Linked DNA regions of Homo sapiens: region 1 is linked to region 2. The links are contacts of gene promoters, found by promoter capture Hi-C in blood cells and fetal thymus (Javierre and others, 2016). All regions are on one chromosome and are shown on one strand. The core of a region is centred on a gene start or on the middle of the fragment in contact, and the rest is flanking DNA. Distances in the headings are between cores, read along the strand shown.

Region 1 (6,814 bases), core at 4,300-6,799, 760 kb after region 2:
TAGAGTTTATATCCTTGTTCCCACTAAGATGTGGACACATCTTCTTGAATGCTGAAATACCAATGTTTACTTTAATAGGTTACACACAATGACTTCAGGATTCTTCACCTTGCCACTATTCATGAGAAGTAGCACTTGTGGGAGGGTTTTGATTTTTCAAAAAAACTTTCTAGGTTTTGCTTTCTGGACCTCTGACTTTAGGGACATCTGTTGGACTTATGTTGAGTGTAGGTGGCCTCTGCACAATAAGTTTATTGAAATTCCAAATCTATACTTTCAATTTTTTCACTTTAAGCACTTAATAGGTATCTTTACCAATTAATACTTGCTGAAAACTGCCCAGCTCCTAAGGAGAAAAGCAGATCCTATTTTTTGTTTCATTTCTGAATGCAGTAGGAGAATTTGGCTTAATTCCTAAAATAGGATTGGAGGAAATCTACTGGGTCCCTTGTGGGTACCCATCCAGAAAAAGATCCCAGGACAGGCCACAGTCCCCAGTCACTGGGCTTGGGTTTTGCCATTGAAGAATATGGGGGGTTGGGGCCAGAAGGGGTGACTGGGGCCAATATGGAATTGTGCCCAGGATAAACTTATTTCACCTTACTTCACCCATTGGTGCAATTTTGGAGACTGTTCTGGAAATCATAGATTATGTAAATTTCCTGGGATCAAACAGAAAGAGCAACTAACAAAAGAAAGGCGGAAATCTCCTACTGACAAAGGACCAATTTCTTCCCTAAACTACCGTTTATGATGTGTCAGGAAAAACAACCTAATGGCTCTGGGGACTTTTAAGTTGGGCACTGAAGACACCTCAATTTCCCCCAAAACTTTAGAGCACAGTTTGGAACAGAGAATTCGCCTGTATGTTGAGGGGGAGTGAATTTCTCCAATCTTAATGTTATCCAGGGGGCCGCCTAAGTTGCCTTCTGAGGGTCCTGTGCGTAGATGTTTTTAATTCTACAAAGAAGGAGAGGAACAGGAAAGAAGAGAGGGAGAAGAAAGGCAAAGCGGAAGAAAAGAAAGCGCTTTAACCCCTTTCAATTAGCCTGGGGATTCAAAGACTAAAGTTAAATCCGGCCATAAAGTTTATTGCTTCAGACTCACAAGCGGCTGAGAACAGTCCCGCCGAAATAAAAAGAACATGCAGGCAAACAGGGTTCAGGGCCTGGTCCCGGGTGCGGGGGAGGGGGTCCTGAACACCCCCCCACACCAGGGTGGGGATCCTTGGTCCTCAGGGTCCAGTGGGCGCTAGCAGCCCAGGATCCACCTTGCAACCCGGGGGCCCAGCCTGGAGGTGCAGCCCCAGCCTCGCCGGCCTCTGCCACCCTCCCGCTCTCGCGAGCTAGCCTGAAACCCGGCCCCGAAGGCCGCCGCCTCAATTCAGCCCTGCCAAATGACCCCGGCCCGCGAAGACATATTGCCACAGCCCCGTAAGGAATCCCGCCAGAGTCCGCCTCGGCCCTGCCCCGGCCTTTCTTTCAAACTCCTGAGCGCAGCGCGGCCCTCGGCGCCCGCGGCCGGCGCCCCACTGTCTCCCAGCCCCGACCCCAGGGCTCCGCGACCCCCAGGAGCTGGCCCCGGCCGGCCCAGCAATTGCGCGGGGGACTGGGGGTGCGGCCCTGCCAGGTCCCCACACACAGGCCCATTCGCACACAAAAATCATCTTTTTGCACGCCGGCGGGAGCAGCGGAAGTCATTAACATCCGCGGTTGTGCTGCAATTAAAGTTAGGCCTGGGGATGCGGCGCGGCCACAGGCGCTGCTCACTCTGCTGCCTCCGCAGAGTTGGCTCCTGGCGCTGCTCTTTTGGGCAGAGGGAAAGTTTGCTCTGCCTTTTCGAATTCAGAGGCAGCCTGAGTTATTGAACCAGAGAGAGAGAGAGAGAGAGAGAGAGAGAGAAAGTTTCCAAAGTACAAATAAACTTGAAAGCGCTCAGGAGGCGAGCTTACCTTAACTCGGAGGGAGCCATTTTTCAGAGAGTTTTGAGAACTTGTGGTTTGGACACTTCTGGACCTAAAATTGACAGTTTGAATGGCCAGGCGGCACACGTAGCCTGCAAAAGAGTCAAATGGAGTCCAGCGTTAGTGAGATTATATGTTATGTGGTATATAATGTTGGATGTCAACTCCCCAAAACCATAAAACTTACTTTAATGGCCCCACGTGACGTTTTATAGCCAGTGAGCCGATCTGTCTGTGCTATGGATGATTTTACGATCTAATTCATAGACAAAACCCTATTCATTTGGCACCCAAATGTCATATAGCCGGAACTGGGGCTTATAAAGTTTACTGTTTTATAACTTTTAAAAGGAAAGACGGCATCAGTGTAAGCAGTCGGTAAATGTGCAAATCTCTAGTTGCGCTTTAGCTGCTCTGAGGAGTTTCCCAATCGAGCTAGGATGGGGTAAGTACCTTCAATTTGTAGCAAATTAATTGTAGCAAAAGAAGCCAACTGGGTCCCGGGTGAAGAGTGGGGAAGGGGTGCTGGGATGGGTTAAGGGCAGAGGGTTTGGGGTCCACAGACAGACATAGCAGCGTCTTCAGCAAGTGGAGGCCTAGGACAGCCTTAGGAAAGAGGCAGGATCTGTGTGGCCTGAGGGCGGCTAACAAAGCCCTGGGTTTTTTCTCCTTTTTTCTTGCTCTTTCTCTCTTTTTTGTACCCAGCAAGTTAACTTGGTTTCCTCAGAGATGGACAGGGTGTTCTGGGGCTTTGGAACAGCCTACAGCTTTTTCCACCTTCTGCCCTGAACTTTGCAATGGGTCAGAGGTAGGGAAGCGATGGGACAGTGTTGGTATGAGGTCTCCCTGCACAGGTCATCTGCTCAGGTAGCCTCAGACCCAACAGCTTCCAAGACTGCACAGACAGACAGAAAAGCAGACAGAGCCGCTCACTATTTGGCACAAACCAGACCAAGAGAACTTACAATAGAAAGTTTATTTTTTGTTCCAGTCAGTATTTTTTCCTTAAAAACAAATACAAAAAAAAAAAAAAAAAAAAAAAAGCTGATCACAGTTTGCTTAAAACAGCCAGACTTGGACAATATTTGTAACTTTGTTCACAAAAACATACATCACTGAAGCTGCGCTTATAAGAGCCACTTCCAGAGTTCGTGCAAAGGGTCCTATAAAGGCACGCAGGGACACACCGCTTGGAGTCACAGTTTTCATCACAGAGTCACTAGTCACTACACGTCGAACAAGTTGTGTCTCATCAAGTCACCTCTACAACAGCATTAATTACACAAGGAATATAGGTAGTTTGAATAAAAATATCTTTAACAGCTTGGAGCTATTGAGACAGGAACACTTCCACGCACATGCACAGTTAAACAACTTGAGTGCAACACACAACATTGGCACTAAACGAGATTGAAGGGGGACTTTTTGTGTGTTTTTTTTTCTCTTTTCTTTTTTTGTTATAGTTACTTCAAGTAACACAGCTTGCTTCATATAAATAAGTTAAAACATCTATTTTTTTTCAAGACAAAGCCATTCAGGACAAAGAGATGAACAGAAAGCAGATCTACTTATACAGGCGCTATAATGGCAATAAACAGGCTCATGATTAAAAGATGAATTAGGGCAACGAGAACAGGGCTTCTTCACAGAAGGAACACAAGGGAGTTTCAGAAAGTCACCTTAGTACTGACACTACGCGGGATCCGCTAATACTGCTCAGTACTTTAAACGCTCAGATACTCAGGGACGGAAGGCCCCTCCTGCCGCGGCCATGCTCATGCTTTTCAGCTTATTATCTTTTTTCCACTTCATTCTCCGGTTTTGGAACCAGATTTTAATTTGTCTCTCGGAGAGGCAAAGAGCATGTGCTATTTCAATCCTCCTTCTGCGGGTCAGGTAACGGTTGAAGTGGAACTCCTTCTCCAGCTCCAGGGTCTGGTAGCGCGTGTAGGCCGTCCGGGCCCTTTTGCCTTCCGGGCCGCCTATGTTGTCTGCAATAGAAAAGTCAGCGGTTTAGCCACCAACTCCTGTCTTCCAAAGTCCGCCAGGGGGACAAGCTTGGGTCATGAGCAGGGAACCCAGGCGAAAAGCTCAACAAGTTCTGCCTACCAGCCCGCACACCCCTCCCGAATTTCCTTCTCTCTTCCTTTCTAGAAAGAAAACAATACGATTTGGACCCTGGGAACAATCTGCCCATCTGAGGCTGGGGCCGTGTCCCGGCGGACTCCGGCTTTCCCTGGCCCCTCTCCTGCCCCCTCCGCCCTGCCCCGGGCGCCCCGATCGGGAGGCACAGCCCTCCCAGGCTGCCCACCGCACAGAAACCCAGGAAGCAAGGCCCTTTCCTGAGCGCCCAAGTGGCCTTCGGGTCACCCTCCCTCAAAGTTCCAGCCCCGAGAGCCGCCTCCCGTTTCCAGCCTGCAGGGTTGGGGAGCCTGTTTTCTTTTTCTTCCCTTTCCTTCTCTCTCCCTCCTGCCCCCAAAATTCAGAATCCTGCAGGCTCTCGCCTCGATTCTTTCCCCCAAGCCCCTTTTCGGGGGCTGTAATTAGTAACGCTGTTTCCCCAGCGTAGCCCTCCTCATAAATTATCCGCCGTGACAAGCCCGATTCACGGCTGCTACAGCCATCCTCTACCTCTCTGCGCCTTGCTCGGCTGGCCTGACCCGGGAGCGCGTCCCAAGGCGTGGGGTTCCAGAGGGGTTTTTTGCTTCCTCCCCCTTCCAACGTCTAAACTGTCCCAGAGAACGCCCATTTCCCCCACTATTTGTGAGCGCAGGGTGCTCGCAAAGAAGAGGAGGAAGGAGGAAGGCAGGGGAGGGAGAACGGCAAGGAGAGCTCCGCAGGGCTGGGAGAAATGAGACCAAGAGAGACTGGGAGAGGGCGGCAGAGAAGAGAGGGGGGACCGAGAGCCGCGTCCCCGCGGTCGCGTGGATTTAGAAAAAGGCTGGCTTTACCATGACTTATGTGCAGCTTGCGCATCCAGGGGTAGATCTGGGGTTGGGCGGGCGGCGCCGGGCTCGGCTCGCTCTGCGCACTCGCCTGCTCGCTGCTGGCAGGGGCGTCCTCCTCGGCTCCGGACGCCGTGCCAACCCCCTCTCTGCTGCTGATGTGGGTGCTGCCGGCGTCGGCCGAGGCGCCGCTGGAGTTGCTTAGGGAGTTTTTCCCGCCGTGGTGGCTGTCGCTGCCGGGCGAGGGGGCCACGGCGGAGCAGGGCAGCGGATCGGGCTGAGGAGAGTGCGTGGACGTGGCCGGCTGGCTGTACCTGGGCTCGGCGGGCGCCGCGCTGGCGCTGGCAGCGTAGCTGCGGGCGCGCTCTCCGGAGCCAAAGTGGCCGGAGCCCGAGCGGCCGACGCTGAGATCCATGCCATTGTAGCCGTAGCCGTACCTGCCGGAGTGCATGCTCGCCGAGTCCCTGAATTGCTCGCTCACGGAACTATGATCTCCATAATTATGCAACTGGTAGTCCGGGCCATTTGGATAGCGACCGCAAAATGAGTTTACAAAATAAGAGCTCATTTGTTTTTTGATATGTGTGCTTGATTTGTGGCTCGCGGTCGTTTGTGCGTCTATAGCACCCTTGCACAATTTATGATGAATTATGGAAATGACTGGGACATGTACTTGGTTCCCTCCTACGTAGGCACCCAAATATGGGGTACGACTTCGAATCACGTGCTTTTGTTGTCCAGTCGTAAATCCTGCCTGATGACCTCTAGAGGTAAACTCGTGCACTAATAGGGGAGTTGGGTGGAGGCGAGGGGGGTGGCGCGCGCGCCCCGGGCGCGTGCCCGCCGCCAGTTGCCGCCGTTCAGCCGGACTCGAGCGCCACCCGCTGGAGGCAGGGCTCATCGCCCAGCTTCCGACCGGGGGCTGCAAGGGCCGGGGTCGAATTGAGGTTACAGCCCATTATGGCAAAATTATTGCATTTCCCTCGCAGTTCCATTAGGATGTACCAATTGTTAGGCCGTCAGCTGCCGATCGCGCGCCCGGCGAGGATGCAGAGGATTGGGGGGAGGTGGTGACTTGCATTTTATTTACAACAACTTTATTTCCCCCGTTTTGCAGCCCCTCTTATTTTTGTGTCGAGGTTGGGGTCGGTACTGACCGTCCTGCCAGCAGCTCTGAATTTTGAAAATACAGATATCACCTTCGGGGAAGGGGGAAAGCCATTTAGCCAATTGGAGAAATAAATCCTGCCCGCAGCAGCAGCAGCTACAATTACGGCTCTGTTTTTGCGAGCGCATGAGGGACAGTGTCCCTGCCGCTCTTAAATGACAGGCGTCTATTAAAGATAGCTTTTGTGTAGTGTTTCTCCAAGGCGAGGTCAAATTCCATACACTTTTATAACCGTAGTCGATTTTTCTTTCGTGTGAATATGGTTTTCGTGTCATTAGTTTGCGATTTGATTTGCTTACGTATCCAGCCTGGAAAATCTTCATCACAGGGTCCGGTTCCTCGAGCCAGCCGGGCCCCAAGTCGGAGGGTTCTCCTTGAACCCAGCGAGTGGGCCCAGGCTCCCTGCAGCCACAGAGGCTGCCTGGGGTCTGGGGATCCGTGGGGCGGGTTACTGGGGTCTTGCTTAGACCTCCAGGAGTAAAATGAGGGCGATAATGGAAGCATTCCTTGGCAGTGCCTAGTATCTCTGTAGTTATTTTCCACGGCTCCGAAAGACTCAAGTAAATCACAAATATAGCTGAGAGGCAAGTGGAGTCTCCCCGCTGGAGGCCCGGCGTTGCAGGCGCCCCTGGCACGTCTGGAAGCCAGGACTCTGGCGGCTCCCATGGCCCTGGGCCCCTCGTTGGGTCCTGAACGCTGCTGTGGCGGCGACGCGGGCGCTATCGGAGGCTGGGAGCG
Region 2 (6,600 bases), core at 951-3,450:
TCGCTCACTTGCTGACTTTACCTGCGCAGTTGCATTTAATCCCTATACGGTAGTTCCCCAGCTGCTTTCTGAGGTCTCAGCTACTGGCCATCCACTGCGGTCCAAAAATCGGTGAGTACAGTACAATAAAATATTTTGAGAAAGAGACCACATTCACATAACTTTTATTACAGTATATCGTTATAACCACTCTATTTTATTATTATTGTTATTAATTTCTTAGTGTGCCTAATTTATAAGTTAAATGTTATTATAGGTATGCACATATAGGAAAAAACATAGTGTATACGTGGTTCAGACTGTCTGAGGTTTCAGGCATCCACTGAGGGTCTTGGAATATACCCCACTGGATGAGGGGGGACTACTTTAACATTAATAGAAAGTGGGTACCATTATTCTCATTGTATAGATGAACCTACTGCTAATTAATGGAAAAGGTGGGATTGAACACAGAATCAGATCTGTTTCTAATACCCTATATGGTTTCTCAAGGAGAAAATAGCTCTTATAAAACCAATGTATTCTCTTAGCACCTAGAATACAAGAGTGCATTCACTTAGAAGGGGCCCCTTATGTATTTCTCGACTGGGTGCATATTCATGGTGTAAAGAATAGTGGTGCTGTTACTTAGAGTGGGAAGCACAGGAAGAGGTGCAGGAGGAAGAGAAGGGGAAGATGAATTCAGGTGCAGCCAGGATGTGGGTACAGGAAGAGATGATATGTCCAGAGGTGAAAATGTGAGGTTGGAATAGGGCGAGAGGTAGAGAGGAACATTTAGAAATTTTCTGAGAGGAGAATTGATGAAGGACATCTTTCCACAAATGTTATCTCAGTGAGGCCTTCCTGGACCCCAAATTGCAACCTCCTTCTTCATTCCCTTTTCCTTACCTTCCCCATCTCTCCTCCCTGCTTTGTATTCTCATAGCATCAATCACCTGTATCTAAATAGATATCTGTTTGTTTTTATCTATGTCCTCTGCATCCCCATGACAATATAAGCTTTATTTGAGGAGGGAGACAGGCTGTTGTTCACGGTGGTATCCCACATGCCTAGACTAGTGCCTGGCACATAGGAGGTGCTCAAAGTATATTTGTTGAATTAATAAATGAAGGAGTGGAATTGAGTGAGATTGCTCACTGATGGCAGAGAAAAAGAAGGGTAGACAGAAGACCTCAGAAGAGGAGACCCTGGAAGTGACTGAGACAATCTAAGAGGCAGAAGACAAATCAAAGAGCCATTCCCAAGAATAAGGAAAGCAGAGGGCTTCCAGAGCAGCACAGCCAGCAGGGTCAAACGTTGCTGAGGGGCAAAATATGGCCGAGGCCATTACATCTTTGGTAATGTTACACAGCATCATGGTGTGGAGGCTCTTGGGATTCAGAGTTAAGCATGAGGGTTTGAATTTCAGTCCTGCCATTTACTAATTTACTAGTTATGTAAATTTGAATAACTCTCTAAACTTTGGAGGCTTGGTCTGTTTACCTGTAAAATGGGTATAATACTGACCCTACCTCAAAGCATAATTTTAAGGATGCACTGAATTATTATATGTGAAAGACATGTATATGTGTGAATTATTACCATTATCAGTGATTTGCAGTGGGTAGAATAAATATCTACAAATAAAGGAAGTCATGAAAAATTTTGATAAACCGTTATTGTTTGGGAATAATTGATTTCAAGACAAAACAAAATACATGATGATTCTTGCTGTCATTTTCAAACACTATGCATATATATTTGAAAATGAGCATTTGCATTTATGAATTTGAATTTGGGGCATTTTCTTTATCAGGACTGTTCCCGGCTTTTTTATACCCCTTCTTACTTAGGCTATTTATGCAAATGCACAATCCCAGACAGACAAGAGGCAACATTTCAGTTCTCTGTCAATTAGGTTGGAGAGCTGCATGCAACCATTCCCTTCCTTCCTCCACCCCCCTCGCAAGCCAATCTTATTTTTTACCCTTTGTATCAGAATGTTGCATATCCCAAGTCTTTCTAGAAAATCACTGATTTTATTTATGCATTAGCCTTTTATGTTGTAGGTTTTGAGTTAGATTTAGTCCTGGTGGCTGAAAGTTGAACATTTTCTGAATGTTTTCCCCAGAACCACAACCATATTTGGCAGCAAAGAAGCTGGAGGGATGAATAGACTTCCATGTTGCTTGGTTGTAGATAGGGAGATGCTGGCAGAAATTTGCAAGTATTTGCATATATACAATTGTCTGTGATGTTTGCTTCCACTCGTGCTCTCTTTCTCTGCCCTCTGTTCTCTTTGTGCAGTGAATTACTAATACAAATACAGATAATGAAATTTCTGATCCCAGACTGCAAAGCAAACGCACATTTTGGAAGGTATCTGGGGAAAATGGATAGGTTCTTTTGATCTTGTTGCTTTAGCCAGACAAGGAAATAAGGAGAAAGTAATTACAGGGACTTGTCTCTGAAGGTAGAATGAGTGGCACTGACAGGGTTTCTTTTCACAGAGTCTTGTAGAAATGCTATTTTCTTGTTAATACCAATAGGTATTATTCCTGGAAATAGAGTTTATGTATTAAAATGTGTGTTCAGCAGATGGGACACCGTCCACAGGAAGCAGAACAAGTTCTGTCCTTGTGGCTACAGGACAGAGTGGATCTAGGGGTGGGTGAAATTTGTCCCCAGGCTTGAGGCATTCCCCAGGGCAGCCATGACAGTGCAAATTCTAGAGGTGGAGTGAAAGTGCATTTGTCCCTGAAAGCATCCTGTGGTAAATCACCGCTCTTGCATATTCAGAAGTCGTCAGTTTCATAAGCAGAAGCGTGACTCTGTTGGGCAACTGGAGGTGGTAACTCAGTGGCTCTGATTAGGTGGCAGTGATAGCAGGAATGCTCAGCTTGCCTGACTTAAGAATATGTTCCTATTGGCTATCAGAAAGCTCCCTGGAGAAAAGAGCTGAAATGCAACTTTAATTGGCAACTTTTTAGGGTAACAAAGAACATTTTCTTATACCTATCCCTGTGGTGGACCTAAAGTTAATACATTGGTAAGTGAGCAATTCGAATTAAGTCCATGCTTTCTTAAACAAACAAGTAAACAAAGAAGTTTTAATTGTCAGTGTACTATGTACTTTATGGCACAACACGATCACCTTTGGTTTAAGAAATGCGTATCGGCTGGGCGCACTAGTGCATGCCTGTAGTCTCAGCTCCCTTCCCTGGGAGGCTGAGGTAGGAGGATCCCTTGAGTCCGGGAATTCAAATTCAGCCTAGATAATATAACAAGACCTTGTCTAAAAAAAAGCATGCCAATTCTTTTCTTCTTTTAAAATAATTTTGATTTTACCTATTGTTGACCTTTCATCATATATCATGTGGTAAACACCAATTCTGTTTGTCTGAATAGGTTTCTAAACAACTTAAGCTTGTGCTGACAGCTTGTATAAAAAGAACAAATATTTGTTTTTTATTTCATGCAAATATCGCATGCTATCAAACAAGACGGGCTTAAAGAGGCTAGGATTTTGTCTTTCATAGCTCACTAAGGGACAGCTAATCTATAGCAGAAATAATTTTAAATGTAGAAGTGCAGTGTGGAAAATACAGACCTCCCCCTGGTTGAAAACACATTAGTAGAAAAAAAAATTTAGCTGAAAAAGGTTATGAAATGCTTATCTTGTTAGACAGCTTAAAATATGTTGGGAATAGAATAAAAAAGAGAGAAATGGTTTATAAGAAAAAAGACTGTTCTAACAGCTATTACTTTATTGGAAATTAGTTTAGTGACATTAAAACTCTTTAAATAAACATATATGAAATGATATAACGTTGTGTTGAAACAAGGTTAAGTAAAAAACTGAAATAGCATTATTGTGGATAAAGTAGAGATCAAACCCTTGAAATTACGGATATTAAGGAACTCATTGGGCAATCACTGGGTTCTTTGCTTTCTTTTCATTCTTTCTTGGCATATCGTTTATGGCCCATAATGAGGTAGGTAGAGATACATTGTTATAGCTGCAGTTTAGTGGCAGAAAGTGAATGAAAGAAAATTTCTCTTAAAAATGAAAACAATATTCATCCTAATGATGCTGTTGGACTGTCCACTATGGAGATTTAAACTAGCATATGAAATTCATTTACAGATATAATGGATACCAATCTAAATATGAAATATTCATATGTATGATATTGCTTCTGTTTGGATTCCTGCTGTCTGCCATTCTAGGTGGGATTGTGGATGGATTTTCCCCTCTCACTCATTTCCTGTTCCACAATGCCTACTGTGCAATATTACTGGGCTATGTCAGCCACCTAGCTACCTTCCTGGTGTGACCGCTGTTCCTACTTTCCTTTATACAATGAAGAATTAACTGTTCAGGTACTGTCATCTGCCTTATCCAACACACTTCATAACACAGGGAGAGAATTTTAATAAGACCTCCAAGGGGCCTGTTGCCATTTTTAGAGAGAAGGTTTCCTACAAAGGAAGTGCATGGAAACTCCCAAGAGAAAGCTAAAACCCCCTGCTGAGAGGAACCCGTGTCATCCCATTTTATTGTCTACCTGTCACCACAGCCCTTGCATGATTCTGACAGGCTGCTCTTTTCTCTTGTAGCCAGTGCTGCTTAATGTCATTTTCTTGGTTGAACATCTTTATTTCTGACTTGTTACAAACCATTAACTAGTTTCCAGGTTTCAATGTCCTGGCTACTTTTGACTAGTAAGTCATTTGGCATAACAAGGTTTCCCTTTATCTTCTTGCTAAAGAAAATCTCTACAAGAAATGATCAGTGTTCCAATTTTTATGAATCCTAGCAGATAGGAAGTGCCTGTCATCGGATGCGAGGTATCTTTTCTGAAAGCATATTCCAGTTCATATAATAGAACTTGACAGACACACTGGGTAACCATTACACTTTCTGTAGAAGGCTTGAAACAATTTAGGTGAAAAGAAGAGAATTTTACAAATATACTTGCCTGGGATGGTTTGAAATAAACATAACAGCATTGTTTATAATTAGATTCCTTACATGAAATGTTTTCACACATAAAATTTTTAAAATATATTTTGAAAAGCATTCAGTAGTTTAACAGTTGTCAGTCTCTATAAATACACTTTTCAAGTGCTAGTTATTTGTAGTATTGCTAAAATGAAGACTGGCTGCTTTGGACAATGATTTAAAAATAAAATATATAGATGTGTGGCTTGACGACATATTGCTAAAGCATTAAAAAACTTAGACTTTAGTTTGCTTTGTATAAAGCTACTCAAACATGAAATTAATATAACTAATTTTTAAAATTACTCTATTTTATTAAAGTTTCAAAAATGTACTTTTTTTTTTTTTTTAAAGAGATGGGGTCTCACTCTCTTGCCCAGACTGGAGTGTGGTGGTGCTATCTTAGCTCACTACAGCCTCAGACTCCTGGGCTTAAGCAATCCTCCCACCTCAGCTTCCCAAGTAGCTGGAACCACAGGCGAATGTCACCACGCCTGGCTAATTTTTGTATTTTTAAAATAGAGGCAGGTCTTGCTATGTTGCCCAGGTTGGTCTTGAGCTCCTTGGCTCAAGTGATCCTTTCATCTCAACCTCCTAAAATGCTGGGATTATAGGCATGAGCTGCCAAGCCCAGCCAACTTTTTTAAAGAAATGAACTTAAACATCATGAGCATATATGTTAATGTAATGTTACATTATTTAAATCTTAAGTAAGAATATTTATTTATCCTTGCCGAATTAATGGATTAAGGATATTTAACGATCAGTTACTGACCCAGCAACTCCACTTCTAGGACTCTATATTAGTGAAACAGTTGAGCAAGTGCATAAGTATGTATGTTCAGTATATGCGGCATTGTAAATCATGAAAAATCTGAGACAGCTTACGAATATATTAATAAGGGAATGGATAAATGAGCCAAAGGACACCTCTAAAGTGGAACACTACATTGTTGTTTAAAAGTTGAGCTACAAATGTATGTGCTGATGTGGGCGGTGTCTTTGATATGTTGTTGAGTGGAAAAAGCAGCCTGCAGCAGTGTGTGTAGAGTGTGAGACCATTTCTGAGAACAGTGGGAACTCTCTCTCCCCACCTCCTCTGTCTTCGTAGGAACACAGAAAACAGTCTGGAAGGATACACACCGGACAACCTTTGAGTGTGAAGGCATGGGGGAAATAAGACGAAAGACCTGATCTTTTGCTTTATATACCTCCATATTATTTGAATTTAGCTTCTCCAGTGTTTATGGACACTATGAGTTAACTTGACAACCTGATTAAATAATTTAAAAAGGAAATTTCATGTCACAGAAAGGATTGGATGAAAAGAGATAAATGTAGCTACTTGAAATTTCTAACAAAGAAGCGTGGTTTCCTTCCATTCGGTTAACTCTGGCACTCAAAGAATTTGTGTCTCTCTATGAATTTTAACAAATAGAACCTCAAAATCTGGGCGCATATGCTGTCAACCCAGAGTCTATGTCATCCTGGGAGCGGCTGTGGTCCTCAGTTGATTTCTTGGTGCCGTATTTCAAATCAGCTCATAAATTATTAATAGTACATGTGTAGGTCAGAGACACACTAACCCTGACAATCATTTCATAATATTCTCTCT

What was found. Contacts are between HindIII fragments. The CHiCAGO score rates a contact against its expected background, and 5 or more counts as called.
Region 1: a contact is called between the fragment with the promoter of HOXA5 here and a fragment that was not itself captured in region 2, in 6 of 17 cell types (neutrophils, M1 macrophages, naive B cells and 3 more). The highest score is 9.4, in neutrophils.

What each region holds. Positions count from the first base shown.
Region 1 is chr7:27,138,132-27,144,945 of GRCh38, forward strand. It overlaps HOXA5 (homeobox A5), which reads right to left and starts at 5,550. Exons shown (of 2, transcript NM_019102.4): 1 at 4,915-5,550; 2 at 2,921-3,954. The coding sequence starts at 5,476. The coding sequence ends at 3,704. HOXA3 (homeobox A3) reads right to left here. Exons shown (of 6, transcript NM_153631.3): 2 at 1,952-2,055. It overlaps HOXA-AS3 (HOXA cluster antisense RNA 3), which reads left to right and starts at 2,233. Exons shown (of 3, transcript NR_038832.1): 1 at 2,233-2,408. RefSeq lists an enhancer at 1,379-1,957. The HindIII fragment of the contact is 13,335 bases long and covers 4,019-6,814 here.
Region 2 is chr7:26,385,702-26,392,301 of GRCh38, forward strand. All of the region lies in intron 1 of SNX10-AS1 (SNX10 antisense RNA 1), which reads right to left. Among named protein-coding and RNA genes, the nearest start is that of LINC02981, 9.6 kb to the right of the region's middle. The HindIII fragment of the contact is 2,407 bases long and covers 998-3,404 here.